Regions from separate parts of the Homo sapiens genome. Here all the other regions are linked to region 4. Evidence: promoter capture Hi-C in 16 types of primary human blood cells and fetal thymus (Javierre and others, 2016). All regions are on one chromosome and are shown on one strand. Each heading gives the region's core, a stretch centred on a gene start or on the middle of the fragment in contact. The rest is flanking DNA. Distances are from core to core; before and after follow the strand shown. Region 1 overlaps MAML3 (mastermind like transcriptional coactivator 3). Region 2 overlaps MAML3 (mastermind like transcriptional coactivator 3). Region 3 overlaps MAML3 (mastermind like transcriptional coactivator 3). Region 4 holds the start of MAML3-AS1 (MAML3 antisense RNA 1). Region 5 has its middle 47 kb from the start of MGST2. Region 6 overlaps MGST2 (microsomal glutathione S-transferase 2).

Evidence for each region. Contacts are between HindIII fragments. The CHiCAGO score rates a contact against its expected background, and 5 or more counts as called.
Region 1: a fragment that was not itself captured here is called in contact with the fragment with the promoter of MAML3-AS1 in region 4 in 7 of 17 cell types (M2 macrophages, neutrophils, M1 macrophages and 4 more); the score reaches 7.9 in M2 macrophages.
Region 2: a fragment that was not itself captured here is called in contact with the fragment with the promoter of MAML3-AS1 in region 4 in 1 of 17 cell types (neutrophils); the score reaches 5.5 in neutrophils.
Region 3: a contact is called between a fragment that was not itself captured here and the fragment with the promoter of MAML3-AS1 in region 4, in 1 of 17 cell types (neutrophils). The highest score is 5.5, in neutrophils.
Region 5: a fragment that was not itself captured here is called in contact with the fragment with the promoter of MAML3-AS1 in region 4 in 1 of 17 cell types (neutrophils); the score reaches 5.2 in neutrophils.
Region 6: a fragment that was not itself captured here is called in contact with the fragment with the promoter of MAML3-AS1 in region 4 in 1 of 17 cell types (neutrophils); the score reaches 5.1 in neutrophils.

What each region holds. Positions count from the first base shown.
Region 1 is chr4:139,735,503-139,738,288 of GRCh38, reverse strand. All of the region lies in intron 2 of MAML3 (mastermind like transcriptional coactivator 3), which reads left to right. It also overlaps a transcript of MGST2 not described here. Among named protein-coding and RNA genes, the nearest start is that of MGST2, 71 kb to the right of the region's middle. The HindIII fragment of the contact is 4,202 bases long and covers 1-2,786 here.
Region 2 is chr4:139,803,579-139,806,278 of GRCh38, reverse strand. The region is part of intron 2 of MAML3 (mastermind like transcriptional coactivator 3); the gene reads left to right. Among named protein-coding and RNA genes, the nearest start is that of MGST2, 140 kb to the right of the region's middle. The HindIII fragment of the contact is 9,936 bases long and covers 1-2,700 here.
Region 3 is chr4:139,782,347-139,785,046 of GRCh38, reverse strand. All of the region lies in intron 2 of MAML3 (mastermind like transcriptional coactivator 3), which reads left to right. LOC124900782 (a long non-coding RNA gene) reads left to right here. Exons shown (of 2, transcript XR_007058277.1): 2 at 1-2,700. Among named protein-coding and RNA genes, the nearest start is that of MGST2, 120 kb to the right of the region's middle. The HindIII fragment of the contact is 4,083 bases long and covers 1-2,700 here.
Region 4 is chr4:140,126,583-140,129,282 of GRCh38, reverse strand. It overlaps MAML3-AS1 (MAML3 antisense RNA 1), which reads right to left and starts at 1,268. Exons shown (of 5, transcript NR_147610.1): 1 at 1,196-1,268. All of the region lies in intron 1 of MAML3 (mastermind like transcriptional coactivator 3), which reads left to right. The HindIII fragment of the contact is 9,535 bases long and covers 1-2,700 here.
Region 5 is chr4:139,711,884-139,714,583 of GRCh38, reverse strand. It overlaps a transcript of MGST2 not described here. Among named protein-coding and RNA genes, the nearest start is that of MGST2, 47 kb to the right of the region's middle. RefSeq lists an enhancer at 2,265-2,700. The HindIII fragment of the contact is 2,368 bases long and covers 164-2,531 here.
Region 6 is chr4:139,672,912-139,675,682 of GRCh38, reverse strand. The region is part of intron 1 of MGST2 (microsomal glutathione S-transferase 2); the gene reads right to left. Among named protein-coding and RNA genes, the nearest start is that of MGST2, 8.5 kb to the right of the region's middle. The HindIII fragment of the contact is 7,308 bases long and covers 1-2,771 here.

The sequences.
Region 1 (2,786 bases), core at 199-2,698, 390 kb after region 4:
TACAGGCGTGAGCCACCATGCCTGGCCTGACCATGACAAGTCTTGTTCCCCTTTATTTTAGGAGCTAAAGCTAGCACCAGAAACACAGCACTTCCCTCACCCTGAAGGATGCCCTGCATGATCAAGAGGTTTCGGCAGTAAGAATAACAACCACAAGCTGTTTGTTATGTGCCAGTCACTGGGCCCATGGTGGAGCTGAGTTTCTACCCAGGCCTGTGGGGTTCCCCCAATGTACACTGTTCCTTTCTAGAAGCTGAACCAAGAGCTTTGCTGGACCCATTTAGCAGCCTTCGCATTGGGCCCCAAGTTATTGCTGCTTCAGTGATAAGCCTCCTAAATTGATGAACTCTGCCTCAAACTCAATCATCTTGGGGACACAACCATCACACATCACAAAACAAACCTTTTAATCCAATCTTCTTCAATAATCTGCTGAGACAGAGGATATTAGATGGGGTGGGCCCTTTTGGAGCTCTGCTATGAATTTATTGTAAACACCTCTCCAAACCCACAGTAAAAATTTTTCTGGAAAAAGAAAGTTTGTAAAAGAAAACCAAATCACTGCCTTGACACCTGATCAACTTCAAAGGGAATTGTAAGGTTTTATTTTATTTTGTTTCTTCCTTCCACTTATGGTTGAATGATCTAATCTTATGCCCTTTCTTTAAATGTCAAAGTTGATACCACAGAGGCATCCCAATTTTGGGTACCAGACAACATATTAAAAAAAATGATGCATATTTTGGTGCTCTTTCAGTTGCATCCTTTGATCCCAAGGGTTTCTACCTTTTTATTCTATGCCCATTCCTCTCCCCACCCCCTTCCCATTTCTTTTTATTCCAACATCCTCCTGGGTGGTCCGCTCAATTTAGACCAGATGCATGTTATGGTCAGTGGAAAAGTCAGAATCCCAGAGACGCCACCACCAGACAAGTTCCTTAACCTCTCAGAAATTTGGGCTTAAAAAAAAAAAATCAACAAAATGAGTTAAACATACAGGTGAAAGCCCCTAGTAGAGTGTTTTGCAATGAGTAGGTGCCCCATAAGTGTTACATTCTTCATATTTGAAGAACTCTTTCAATCAGAGGGAACTTTCCTCAAATCATAGCTTTCCATAGTTCACCTTATTACACGAGGGACTTGTAAGTCTAGGGATGTCTGATGCTCCCCTTAGCAAGGGCATTATAGGGGACTCGCCCTTCCTCAGTCATGGATGCTCCTCAGCCTCCACAGCACAGTTGCAACTGGAGTAGTCCGTCCTGGAAGAATTGGCTCCTTTCAGCCATGGGCTCCTTTCAGAATTCTTGGGTTTGCATTGCAAACATCACTGGCCTGAGCAACCCTCTGAAAATTTTGAAAATTTTGTTCCAAAGCAGGAAATTTTGCAATAGAAACTAAGCAACTCAGCACCCTGACTTGCTTTTGAAAGTGCAGCTTTGCAATCTAATCAGGGCACAGGATTATTTGCCCCAATGATTCTCTATGGGACATCGTAACCACCTGGAGAGCTTGTTAAAACACCCCCAAAAGTTCTAATTCAGGAGGCCTAGAGGGGAGCCTGGGAATTTGCATTTCTAACAAGCTCCCAGGTGGGGACTAATGCATTTGATCCTGGAACCACACTTTGAGAACCCCTAATTTTTAGTTACTCATTTTTCCCAAATTGCCCATACTGGGAATGGGGAGGTTTTAGAGTATTCTTAGCTATTTCCTTTCTATGACACTTCATTAACTATGTCACCTCCAAAATTTCCATTGTCAAGGAGTCTTATGAGTATGGTTTTCATTTCAGGGGGTGGGGACTGAGAGAGGTCAGATGGCTTGCCTGAACCTCTGGGAGTCACAGCCAGGCGCCTCTGTCTAGCCATCGTGGGTGTTCGATTCATCCTGTGCTGCTCAATAACATAAAACTGCTGCGCTCTTTGGCCAAGCAATTGTCATGTTAGCTTTCACCTCTGATACATACTTTCGCCTTCTCAAACTTACTAATAAAACTTTCAATAGTATCTTTGCAGGAGAAAGCCTCTGGATTCTGGTGAGAGGTTGGATGTAGCTATCTTTTGATATATACAATTTCGTCGAAATCCCAGTTGGGCTAAAGATTCCTTCCTTTAAAAAAAATTTTTTTTTACTTGACCCAATTCAGAGTGAGTGAGTGAGTGAGTGTGTGTGTATGTGTGTGTGTGTCTGAAAAGCACAGGTTTTCTGGGGCATCCTTTTTGTTTATGCATTGATTTATTTTTACTCTTTCCTGCCACGAACAATCCTCATCTCTGTCCTCGTGTCCTTCCCAGCCACTAACACACACGATGTGGCGGGGCCTGGGAAATGCGCCCGCTGGAGCACACCGCAGCCTCGCGGGCTCCCGAGCGGCGCGCGCGGGCCGAGGACCTCCAGGGCCCCTCGCGGGTCTCCCGAGCGCCGCCGCACCGCCCCTGCCCGCGCCCGGGACCGCCTCGTGGGCTTCTTTGTTAGGGCCGCCTGCGCCGAGAGGCAGTCTAGGTCCTGCCGGGGACGCACGGGCCCCACTCCTGACTTCCTAGCCGGAGTCCCCTGAGGACTTGTAAGCATATAGGCTGGAGTCGAGAGGCTAAATTAGGCCCCAGGGGACTTTTTCAATAAAACCCTAAATTTCATTTAGGTTGTTCGTAGGCCAAGCGATTGCAAGGACTCTGAGCCGAAGCAGCGGTGCCGGGCCGACCCGAGGCTCGCTCCTTATCGCCCCCTCCCCGGGCCGGCTTTGTGCAGCTGGGGTCCTGGAACCCGGTCCCTCCCGGGCTGTCGGC
Region 2 (2,700 bases), core at 73-2,572, 320 kb after region 4:
TTCTTTTTCTAAAAAACTTACATATTATAAATTTGCATTTATGCCAATATTTTGTCCTAGCTTTTAATCTGCTTGTTAATTTTTAAGGGTTTTTAATGTACAGTTTAAAAATTTATGCAATGAAAACTATTAACCTCTTCCCTTGTAACTTCTAATTATTTTATACTTAGAAAGACTTTATACCAAAATCATGAAATACTGACTTTTAAAAATGTTTTTGGAGTTCATTTTTTACATTTAATTATATGCTCTTCAGAAATGTATTTTGGTATAGTTGCAAGGTGCAAATCTAACTTCAGATATCCCCCCTTATTCTTGTCTATTTCATAATCTTTCCTTTCCCCATATTTTTAACAGATAATGAATTCTTAAGATCTCCTTCTGGACTATCATTTCTCTTGCATTGAACTATTGGTTTTTCCACCGCTCGCATAGTATTCCATTATTCTGGTTTTACAGTAGGTTCTAACATCTCATATTGCCTTCTTTAGCTTCCTTAGCTTCTCCTCCCAGTTTATTTTTCCAGAATAACTATAAAAAATTTATTAAATTCCTAAATGAATCCCTCTGCAATGCTGATTTGAATTATATTAAATCTATAGAATGGTCTGGGAAGAGTTGACTTCTTCACAATATGCAGTCTCTTCATTCAGGAATAAGAACTATATCTCCATTCACTCAAGTCTTTTTTAAAGATTCTCTAATTTTCTTCTTGTAGTTTCTATTCATTTCTTATTAAGGTTATTCTTGGGTAACTCAAGTGTTTAATTATTTCTGTTTCTGAAATCATTGCAAAGTGGCATTTTTAAAAAGAGGGTCTTGATTAGCTAAATTGGGGTTAGACTATGAGAAAACCCAGCAAAACCTGACAAGCCAGAAGTCATTAGTAATTAAATAATTTCTATCTGAAAACTAATTGGATTAAATTAACCCATTTTAAGGTATTATTTCTCAGACAAGAAATGTCCAACTTCTATTTCTGTGTCACCATCAGTGACTATTCCTAATAACATACCACTTTTAGTCATTGCATAAACAGGAGACAAATGAAATTCATGCTTATAATAAATTCTTTTTGTTGTTGTTGTTGTTTTGAGACGGATTTTCGCTCTTGTTGCCCAGGCTGGGGAGCAATGACTACATCTCGGCTCACCGCAACCTCCGCCTCCCGGTTACAAATCAAGCAATTCTCCTGCCTCAGCCTCCTGAATAGCTGGGATTACAGGCCCCTGCCACCTAACCTGGCTAATTTTTGTATTTTTAGTAGAGATGGGTTTTCGCCATGTTGGCCAGGCTGGTCTTGAACTTCTGACCTCAGGTGATCTGCTTGTCTCAGCCTCCCAAGGTGCTGGGATTACAGGTGTGAGCCATCGCGCCCAGCATCATTTTTAAATTAATTGTTATTTGTGAGTACTAAACAGCACTGTTCTAGACACACTATCCTCTACTTCTAAAGCCACACTTCAGACCTTAGCCCAGTAAAACTTTTCTTTTGATTTCCCAAAACATAAATTGTTTCTGTTACAAATGTAAATAGTGTCCTACTACTTAAGTGTATACATACATATGAGACTATAAGCAGATATAAATTAATATGCTTGCAGAAAGAGGATGTATGATAGAATTTTAGAGTATAAGCAGACCTTAAAAATCAACTAGCCCAAGCCATCTAGTCTTACTGGGATCCATGAATGTATTAAAATTCTTAGTGAGGCTTGGCGCTGTGGCTCACACTTGTAATCCCAGCACTTTGGGAGGCCAAAGTGGGTAGATCACTTGAGGTCAGGAGTTTGAGACCAGCCTGGCCAAGATGGTGAAACCCCGTCTCTACTGAAAATACAAAAATTAGCCAGGCATGGTGGCGGGCACCTGTAATCTCAGCTACTCTGGAGGCTGAGGCAGGAGAATCGCTTGAACCCGGGAGGCGGAGGTTGCAGTGAGTCAAGATCACGCCATTGCACTCCAGCCTGGGTGATGAGAGCAAAATTCTGTCTCAAAAAAAAAAAAAATCCTTAGTGAGATCACTTGTGTATGTGTGTATCATGTGTGCATTTTTCTGAAGGAAGAGTCTATAGCTGAATTTCAAGTGGTTGCCAACTATTTAAGACCCTAAAAAGAGCTGAGAATGACTGAGCTACTCCAACCTTCTCACTCATCAGATGAGAAGACTGAGGCCCAAAGTGCTGAGGAGACACACCTTTGGGCACACAGCTCTTCAGGGGCAGAGCCAAGGCAGGAAGTTGGGTCTGCCGATCCCCAGCTTTTTCTGTAATACCTTTCTGCACTCTACATGTGAAGATCATATCAGATCCCTGCATCCTCAGTGTGCCTGCATGGTGTGAGCTGGGTGTGTTGAACTAGTGTGGAATTTGGAACCAAGACCCCACATTGAGATTTAGCTCTGGACTCAACAGTTGTGTGACCTTGGGCAAGATCTTCAACTCTGACCTCAGTTTCCTCTTCTATGAAATTGAGTTGCAGGAGTAAAACTGATCTTACAGGCTTTAAAAGAGGATATAATGAGGTGATGTGTGTAATGCATACATAGCCAGGCACTTTATAGACTGTAAAGTGCTGTGTGGTGTTATTATTTTCATCATGACTCTGGGAGAACTGGGGTAACAGAAGCACAGTGGGGGTATGTGGCAGTATTAGTAACTTTCAGCTGCCACCCTGCATACACCAAACATGTCATCCTTC
Region 3 (2,700 bases), core at 34-2,533, 340 kb after region 4:
GTTGTGTGATGATGAAATCTGGGCTTTTAGTGTATACATCACCCGAATAAGGTATGTACATAGTACCATTCAGAGATTTCCCATCATCTACCTTCTTTCCACCCTCCCACCCCTCCTCGTCTCCAATGTCTATCATTCCACACTCCATGTCCACGTGCACACATTAGCTCCCACTTGTGAGAACCAAGCTAGCCTTCTAAACCTCTCCAGGATCTTTCTCTGGTGACAACAAAGAAATGAAGCAAGAGAGTGATCGGAGATGAGGGCAGGGGCTGCAGACTTGGCCAAGGCGTAGCGCATAGCAAAGGCCCAAAGAACTGAGTACCCTTCCAGTTTAATTGGTCCTTCAGAAGAATGGAGAGAATAGTACATTGGGGGACTAAGTGGGAAGAGATGAGAATTGTATTAAAAGCAATACAAATGTTTCTTTTTAAGGAATGGAAAGAGATTCTTGAGAAAGGCGACCCACACACGCGCACAAGAAAACATCAGCACTCATGCAGGAACAACGAGAGGCCATAGGGAAGTATTTTTAGCAAGTGGAAGTCAATCACAGCAGGGAGAGAAGAGGGGTGGGTAAAGAAGGGGCCTGGAGCCTCGCAAGTAAGCCCAGAGCCCTGCAGTGGAAGCCACCTAAACCAACACCATTCTCCCTCATCCCGTGCCTCGCCAGGATCGCTTGGAATGCCACTGGAGAGGCAAGATGGTTTTAGAAACAGGAAATTGGAAGTGTTCTGCTTAAAATGCTTCAGGCTCTGTGTGAGAGAGAAAGAGAGGGTCTGTGTGTCGATAAGAGGAGTGCTTGTGTGGACGCTCCCAGGTCGGCTTGCGGGCAGCTGGGCGGCATCAGGCGGGCCTGGCCTTGTTGACTGCTCTCATCAACAAAGGCTCGCTTGTTTTGCTAGCCATTTTCCTTGCATTTCAGAACCAAGGGTCCTTTCTTCTTTTTTCTTCTCTTGCATCAGAGAAAGCTGTTGTGTGCGGATGCTCAGGAAGGTAAACATATGCATTTTAATATCTGTGGCTCCCCCACAGTCAGTGAGCTATTTCCTCCACCCAGGTGGAAAGAGGATAGCGGGCCTCTCTGACATGCTGGTTAGTCTGAAAACAGACCGCTAAATGCGTAATGAAGAGCCTCCGAGGAGTCAATCTGCATGTTAAAATGGTGTTCAGCAGCCCGGGCTGTCACACAACATAACTTGAAGATGAATGTGCATCCAATCAGACGGCCAATCGCTGACTGGGAGGGTCCTGGCTATTAGGATTACCTGACTGCTCGGTGGCAGTGGGGTTTCCAAGGGGCCACAAGTTAACCAGCACCCCCCAAATCTGTGACAAGACAAATGAGCCCTCTCTTGGGCATCCCCAGATTTGCATGGTCAGAATGATGCCGAGAGACAGTCTGAACCAGAGAGGAACAGTTAAAGAAGCGGGTATTGATCCCAACAGAAAGACACAGGGCTTTCAGCACGTTGGAGTCCAGGGGCTGGAAGCGATAACAAAGGAAAATGTTCAGCTTGACACTTGGAAGCAGAAAGGCAGGTTCTGAGCAGCCCCACACCAGCAGGTACTACCTGCCATAAGGTTTGTGTTGCAGCCACTGCAGTCACTGCTGCTGCCACCACAACTACAGTTCATAGCCAGTAACAGCCTTCACATGAATGATGTGTAGACACCACTTTTGTCTCTGAACGCTTGACAACAATTAGGACCTGACTCCAGGAGCAGGACGTCACAGGAACACCGGAATACTGGAGAAATGAGGTTAGAGCAAAGAAATTAGCCATCTGCCTGGTGAAGACTGTGTCCTCGAGGTAGCATTTACATAGGAACAACAGGCAACACGTATCCATTTTCATTATCCTGTGCTACAGATAGACAGAGGACAAAAGGGCTTTAAGAACCGTGTTTTCTTTAAGGCCCCTGTACTTAGCGAGGCTGTATGTCCTTTTTTCCCCTTCATTCAAAATGCCTGCTGGAGCTGCAGCTAAATGACAAGCCCTGGGGAAGGATTCCTATCAGCTGGAAGTTTTATGCATTGCTCCTTTTTTGAGGTTCCCAAACACTGAAAATAGGCAGCCTAAAGCCAAATTTGGAGCATAGGAAAGGGCAGCAAATACAATTGTAAGGCTCTACTTTGAATGTTGCAAATCTCCATCTGAAAGATGGAGGGAAAAAATATTTTTAGGTGAAAGGTGATTCCCAAATTGAGCCCCAAAGATGTTCCAGCAGCTCAGAGCTGTGGGGTTGACATCAGAGGCCTCCTGTCTTAAGTGAAGCCTCACCCATAGACATTGCAGGTTCTGGGTGCGCACACCACTAGCTCTGGCCAGCTCCTCGGCAGTAAAGAAGCTCAGTTTGCAGTTGATCCTTGGCTGAACTTTGCCATTCATTACAGGACAACCAAAAGGGGCACCAGGAAGGCCCACCTCCATTTAGCATGTCTATTGCCCTCCTAAGAGCCCTGTTAAAGTGGGGAAAGCCACTTTTCTACATATATATATCAGCTAACACTTTTATCTTTGTGTCCATGTAAACTGTTAATATTAGTTTCACCATGCCAGCTTGATCAAAAAGTCAGTCCCAGCACAGTGGCTCACACCTGTAATCCTAGCACTTTGGGAGGCTGAGGTGGGAGGACTGGTTGAGGCCAGAAGTTTAAGACCAGCCCGGGCAACATAGTGAGACCCCCATCTTTAC
Region 4 (2,700 bases), core at 19-2,518:
CAATTTGTCATGGCCTAGAAGGGGGCTTCCATGGTCCCACTGATGGAAAAAAGTGATAATACTAACAGCTCACATTTTCTGAGTGTGAGACACTTTTAAATGCTTTGCATGTTATCATCTCTTTCAGTTTTCACAATGACCTTCTGAGGCTCGTCTAATTATTGTTTCCATTTAAAAGATGAGGCTACTGAGTCCCCCGAGAGTTTTGTTGATTTGTCACAGTTAATGAATGGTGGAACAGGGATTCAAACCTGGACATTATTGCTCCTGAGGCTGTGTGACTACGACTCTGATGACCTCTCGATGTTGGTCCTAGAAGGAGACCAGTGGATTTAGGTCTTCGGAAGACTACCTATGCTAGTGGAGCGTGATGGAAGGGAAATCTTGAAGGTTCACACCTAGTTGTTACTTGTTCCATTTACTCCCTGCCTGGGTCTCTCCACTCTGCCCTGACCTCAAGGACAGGGAGACGCTTCTGGCTTGCTGGGGTGTTAGTTCTTTCTCTTGCCCTGCATGTGGCCCACTAGCGATGGTTGTTGTGAAGATATACTGTCTACTTTATTTGTTTCCCTCCCAAATTGCCACAGTCAAAGTCTTCTCTGGGCTTGAGCACACATCTAGAGGACCACTGCAGCTGCCTTTGTGTGGGGATAGCCTGTGTGGGTGCACCCTTTTTTGACACACAGAGTGCTTTCCAAGAGCTCCAAGTCCTTGGTGTTAGAAGGATACTCCTGCTGCAAAGATCCCATTGCCCATGGGGAGCTCTGAGCTGACATTCCCTAACAGAACCCAAGTAGTGGTCAGAGCTTGGGGCTCCTTAAAGGCAGGGGTGCTGCTGGGTCTGAAATAGTACTTTGGATATTGCAGGTGCTCCATACATATCCATGGACTTAGTTGATTTTTAGCCCTGCAGGTTGTTCCTCAGCACATGGTTCTTCTCTGAGCTCCATACTGCCCTCATCTTCGCTCATCTGTGACTGTATCTAAACTCTTCTCAAACCTATGAGTATTTTTGGCTTCTGCACCTCCTGAGGTGTGATGAGTTCTCTGTTTTTATGAAGAAGAGATCTTACCTTGTATTGTTCTAAAGCACCATCTTAATTGAAGGTAGGAGGAGGAGTTTGGAGCAAACCAGAGAGGAATATGGACAAATGAGGGGCAAAAGAGAGCCAGGGCACAGCAGAAGGGGCCTCACCAGGGAGAAGAGGAGCTGCCTGTTCTGTCACTTAGCTCTCCATGATGTGCTGGGATGCTGTCTGTGAGGCACTGGACGAAGGCAATTTAGTGAAGTCACATTAAAGTGGCTCCAAGATTTGATGTCACAATAGGTCACTTTGACCTTCTATTTATGATCAGCTCTTGATGTACACATAAAATTTTGGGAAGTAAGTAAAATGTATATGGAGGTTTGGCTTGCGTTCTGGTGAATAAGGTCCAGGAGGTTAAATCTCTGTGCTTTTAGTACAGCTACTTGGTATCTGGGCCTCATTTCCCCACCTGTAAAGCAGGGGTAACAGTAGTTCCTTCCTCATAGTGTTGATGTGAGGACTGAGAGATACAGTTCTTGTAGAATTTTCAGTAAAGTTCTGGATCCACAGTGAGCCTTCTATAAATATCAGCTGTTATTATTAGCAAACCACCAAGATGCCCACTATTGTGCCTCATGATGGCAGGCTCAGTGGGAAGCCAACATGTTTTCTCCAAAAAAGTAGAGCATGACTCTAGGTTTGTGGTGCTTGTTAGATGGAAGAGTCGAGCTTTTGCTGGCTCTCTATACCTCTCGTGTGGAAGGTGCTTAGCATGTTTAGGCCCCATTGCAGTGACTATCAATGTGAGTCCAAATTCCCTCCACACTTTCTGTCACTCCTTTTGGACATACCATATACTGTCTCCCATCATTTATCACTGACTGGCCACATGGCACCGCTTAGGAGCCAGATGCTGGGCTAAACATTGAAGTGACAACCATCTGGTTTACTGCCCCTCCCCTGCAAGAACCTGAGGGCTCCATGGATGGAGGATGAAGGTACAAAACACAGGGCATGAGCAGGGAATCATGAGTGTTTTGGTGCTGTTGAAACAGAAAGCTCAGGACGTAAAGTGGTGGAAGAAGAGGCTGGTGAGAGAGGCAAGGCATTAGGACGTGGAGGGCCTTATCTGCCACGCTCAGAAGCATAAGCCCTATGACATAGGAGAAGAGAAACTATCAAAGGATTATAAACGAGGGTGTGATGTCATCATGACCATACGAAAGATAGGTTTGAGACCAAGACTGGGTGGAGGGAGGTCGGTGAAGATGTTACAGAATACTCAGCAGAAGATGTTGAAGGGCTTCAAGTAGGTGAGTAGTGGGTAGAGATGGAGATAGGAGACCATTTTCAAAATATATTAAGGAGTCCATTGAGTAGACAGGGGGGACTGAGAGAAATCAGGGATGACTTCCAGTTTTCTGGCTTGGAAAATGGTGTTACTAGCCAATTTAGGTTTTGGAGGGAAGATGTTTGGTTTTGGACATGCGACGTTTAATGGGTGTATTTATGGTCCATTCTGAAGGGATGTCTGGTAGTCATTTGGATGTATAGGACTAGAGTTTAGCCAGAGGTCTGGGTTGCGGGTATAGACATTGCAGATGGCTGAAATTTCAGAGTGGATGAAATTGGCAAAGCACGTATAGCAGGAAAAGAGAAGAACAATGGCAGG
Region 5 (2,700 bases), core at 98-2,597, 410 kb after region 4:
GATGCTAAGCAGCCTGGTTAATATCTATGTTTTATTACGCGTATTTTGCTTTGGCCAGAACAAAAAGAAATACTTTTCCTTTATGATGCGGCTTGGCCCCCAAAGGCAGTTGTGCCACAAGCCAGATCACTAGGGCCCCTCAGGGAAAGAGAACCCAGAAGCTTAGCATGCTGGCAAAAGGGTAGGAATTTCTTCCCAGTCAGATTTCTGGCTTCTGTCTCTGTGTGCAAATAGTTAAATGAATGGGGGGAAAAAATCAGTGTTTATGTCCTCTGTAAAGTTTTGATTAATGCCAAAAAGAATTCTAAGGCTAGTCTTAAGCTGGTGTATTTTGTGCCATGAATTCGTTTTTCTGTGTAAAGGGGTACTTTAGGATAAAACATGGGCTTAGAATACCTGTAAGCCCGCTTTTCAGGATGACCTCACAAGCTGGTCAGTAATAAACTTGGCTGCAGGTCCCTGAAACAAACAAAAAACTGGATGAAATCTCCACCTTGTTTTATGTCCTTGGGAGCTTGACCTTTTAACCATGTGGTGGTACCTTCCCGTGGTCTCCACCTTCCAGGAAATAGGAATTTTAGGATTCATGTCATAGCTCTAAAAATCATATTAAATAGTTAAAAGCCTTTGCAAGCTCAAAATTAACTACTCTAGACTCTTCCTGGGAAAGGAACTGGAGACCACGCTTTGCTATAGCTCAGTAGCTAAGATCGTGCACTTTCATATTGGTAGCCAGGGTTCGATTTCCCCGCCTACCATTTCTGGTTTCATATCTGCATGACCTTGTCTATTCTCTTCTTCTCCATGGACTGTCTTAAATTTTCCTTTCACTAAGCACCTAGGAGGTTATCTCTGGTAGAGTTCAGAAGCTAGAAATATTGGCCGCTTGGCATTGTTAAAGTCAGGTAATAAGAGATCCAAAAGTATTTCTTTTTTAAAGAACACTATGGTTAGAAGTCAGCTTAATTAAAAGTAGATAAACAAGCAATAGATATATTTAAAAGGCCATTAATGATTTTCTCTTTTTGGAACTTGTTTTTCTGGAAAAAGGTTTTTTCTTCTCAGTCAACTGAATTATTTTTCTCCTTTTTTTTTTTTTTTTTTTTTTCTGTCTTGCCACTCTTAATGAACACACGAGAGGCCCTAAGATAACTTCTGGTAGCCTGGGACTCCTTGGGAAAAACAAAGGAGGTGTCACAGACTCATTGGGAAAAACAAAGGAGGTGTCACAGACTCCGTTTTGGGAAAAAACCTGTTTTTATCTTGAAACCCCAGGAATTAAAAGCAGATGGATCCCTCTCAAAATCAAATGCTCTGTTCTGTTTTGTATTGTGTTATCTGATGGTTTTGAGTTTGGGGGGTATCAGAAATTACTTTGCATTTTGAGACAGCTTTGCTGTGAAATAACTAGGTAGGAAATATACTTTAAGGGATGGCTAATAGTAGTTATGGAGGGATACTTTGACTCCGCACACTTGGAACAGAGAAGCATGCTTTGCTTTGTTTTTCAGAGTCAAGGAAACTTTTCTTTTGAGCTATTTATAGCTTGTAGCAATTGAGTAAAGCATACTGCTGTGAACAAAATTTGGAACATATTTGTTTCTCTCTAACCTGACTTCAGAATTTGGAAATTAGTTGTGAGTATTCTTAACTTATGGCAATATACTTATTTGCATAAATGCAATACGAATCTGTTTTCTTTTGTAACAGGACACAATTGGAGAAATGGGTCATTTTACCAAGGCTTTGACTGGAATGGTGTGCTTTCCTTTAAGGAATCAAACTTGACTTGTAGAGCCAATAAAAACCCTTTGGGGAACTGGCCTCATACCTTGCCTACACAGTCCCTGTATAGGGTTTCTGACCTATGGTAAGTAAAGAATTTCACTTTCTCACAGGTCCAGGAGCCCCAAGTTATCTTGGGACCTCAAAAGGACAGGAATTTACCTAACTCATAGGTATTTCAGGGTACAAACCCATGGCAGGGCTCGGCTTTTTAAAAAGTCTTATCTGAGATTCCTTATGAAACAGAGTTCCATCAAAGCCAATTAAAATGCCTGTGTGAAAAATAATTATCCTTGCTGTACTTTATACAAATAATCAGGCCAAGTATAATAAAGCAAATCAGTCTTACCATAATTCGTCTTTAGTAAAAATGGGAAACTGGAGCGAGAACTATTATGTTTCAAGAACTATGGTACACTTGTTATTAAATTCTAGTCTCACTAGTTGTTTTTAAGTTTGTTTCTGCAATTTAAGCTAACCCTGTTTATTCCTGTGAACTAACCAGTGATCTCTAACTGCTGCTCAGAGGAAACAAGAGGGATGGGTAATGTAAAAGTCTGGATCAGTATTCTAATTCTGGGCACATTGCAATCAGCTGCCAACCCCATATCAGCTTGGTTTCAACAGTTGCACAGTTGATGGAAAGCCTTCTAATTTAGCTTGCTTGGAATAACTTTACTTATTTTGCTTTACTCTTGTGGAATACATTACTGCTATACTCTTTGTGTAGGAATACAGAACAAGCTTACTGAATGTTTTCTTAAACTAAACACTTATTAATCTTCCAGATATCACCTCTTGTCAAAACTCAAGAGTCATGAATGGCCCTCACCATACTGATGCTTTCTGACTGAGCTCCTCTATACCCTGAATGCAAGAGACCCTCATAGTTAGGCAGGAATATCATCGCCCCTA
Region 6 (2,771 bases), core at 206-2,705, 450 kb after region 4:
TTCTGCAGCTTTCTCTCAATCTAATAAAACTTTCCTTTTCAAACCTATATTGTTGTCGGTAAATTCTTACTCCCTGTGGGCCAATCACTTTCCATTGCCAGGGCTCTGACACCTTGCCCAGCAGGTACAAGAAAACTTTGGGGATGATGGCTCCTACCTGCCGACGTTTCCCTGTTATAAAACAGTATGACTTTCTTCTCCTTTATTTCATTAGATAATCAACTCTGATGCCTGGGACCACCTTCATCTTGTGATGAGCTCTGTGGACTTCTTTCACTTCCACATCCATACTTCCTCCTCTGTCAGTTTTTGAGCCTTCAGTAGGTCTTGCCTCCTGTCCTTAACTTCCTCTTTTCACCCCATAATAAACTTCTGGCATGGAGACAGAGCAAGGAACACTCTTAGGGACCTGCTAGCCACCTCAAGCACGGAAATAAAAACTCTTGAGTTCCTTCAAGGGAAATTCCAAGCACCTTGCTATCCTTCAGTCCCGCTAAGCGAGAAGATAATAATAGTTTAAATAATAGTCACCCAAATAAGACAGAGTTACAAGACGTTCGGTTCCCTATAGAAACTAAAGACAACGTCTTCACATAAGTTCTTGAGTTGTTTCTCAGAAACCAGGACCTCCACCAGATGGAAAATGCTGACCACTGTCACACAGACCTCAGCTAAGCGGGAACTGAGGACTGAATTCTGACCACCATTCCCTGTTCTAAATTTCTTCCTGAGGGGCCTGCAGAGAATCACACACACGGGTTAAACCTCATGAAAGGAAAATAAATCTTAGGACCCCCAAATCACTAAGCCAAAGGGAAAAGTCAAGCTGGGAACTGCATTGGACAAACCTGCCTCCCATTCTATACCTAAATAAGATAGCTATAAAGATTTTGTTTTTTTAAGAGACAGAGTCTCATTCTGTCACCCAGGCTGGAGTGCAGTGGCATGATCTCAGCTCACTGCAACCTTCACCTCCTGGGTTCAAGCAATTCTCCTGCCTCAACCTCCTGAGTAGCTGGGATTACAGGCATGTGCCACCATGCCCAGCTAGTTTTTTGTATTTTTAGCAGAGATGGGGTTTCACCATGTTGGCCAGGCTGGTCTTGAACTCCTGACCTCAAGTGATCTACCCGCCTTAGCCTCCAAAAGTGCTGGGATTACAGAAGTGAGCCACTTTGCCTAGACACCAGATAAAAAAAGAAAAAAAAAAAAAACTACATAGCTCCCTCACAATTTACCCACAAGGAAATTCCTTGTGGACAAAGGACAGACAGAACTCAAAGTGATTCCTCTGCTCACTTGAGACAAATACATATCTGATTGCTTCCTTTGATTCAGTAAAAGGCTAATCAGAAACTCAAAAGAATGTCTCCTATCTACCTATGACCTGGATATAGACTTTGAGTTGTCTCGCCTTTCCGGACTGAACCAATGTACATCTGACATAAATGAATTGATGTCTCATGTCTCCCTAAAATGTATAAAACCAGGCTGTGCCCTGACCACCTTGGGCACATGTTGTCAGGAGCCCCTGAGGCTGTGTCACGGGCATGTCCTTAACCCTGGCAAAATAAATTTTCTAAATTGTCTCAGATACTTTTTAGCTTAGAACCTTAATATTTCTTTCTGCTGACCCAAGTTTTTAGACAAAGCCTTGCTCCCTTAACCAACTGCAAACCAAAGAATCTCTGAATCCACCTGTGGCCTGTAAGCCCCTGTGTCAAGATATCCTGCCTTTTGAGGCCAAACCAAGGTATAACCTCCATGTATTGATTTATTATCTTTCCTATACCTTCTGCTTTCCTGAAATATACCCCTGCCTTTAAAAACCCTTGCTTGGGCCAAGTCTGTTGGCTCACTCCTGTAATCCAGAATTTCAGGAGGCCAAGGTGGGAGGATCACTTGAGACTAGGAGTTCAAGACCAGCCTGGGCAACATGGTGTGACCCTATCTCAAATTTTAAAAACCCATTTAGGCATGGTGGTTCACACCTGTAATTCCAGCATTCTGGGAGGCCGAGGCAGGAGGACTGCTTGAGCCCAGGAGTTTGAGACCAGCCTGGACAACATAGTGAGAACCCATGTCTAGAAAATAAAAATACAAAAATTAACCAGGTGTGGTGATGGTGCACGCCTGTAGTTCCAGCTACTTAGGAGGCTGAGTAGGCAGGATCGCTTGAGCCTGGGAGGACAAGGCTGCAGTGAGCCAGGATCAATGCACTCCAGCCTGGGTGACAGAGCAAGACCCTGTTTCAAATAACAATAAAATAAATAAAATTTTAAAACCCTTGCCTGAAAGCCATTGGGGAGTTAGGGTCTTAAGCATTAGCTGCCCAGTTCTCCTTGCTTGGCACCCTGCAATCAATGCTTCCCTTTCTGTCACTGCAAATCCTGGTGCTTGTGTTTGTTTCTGTATGCTGGGTGAATGGACCCACGTTCAGTTGGGTTACAGTAACTATTATTTCGCTTCACATTATTTATTTCAGTTTTAGCTCCTTACCAGTTGTCTCCCCCACTATCTCCTTGTCTGACTTGTTTTAGTACCTCAATATCTGTTTCCTACCTGCTAATATTTTAAAAATGTTTCCTTTTAAAATTCCACACCAAGTGTATAGTTTGGGTCTCTCCCTGTGTTAAGAGTATTAGAGGCAATGTGTTTCCTACTGGAACAGGATATGATCTCCCCCTCTCACAAGAAGTCAATATTGATCCTGGTGTAGCAAGGGCTCTCAAAGCAGGCTCTTCCCTTCCACTAATCCCCTTCTGCTACAA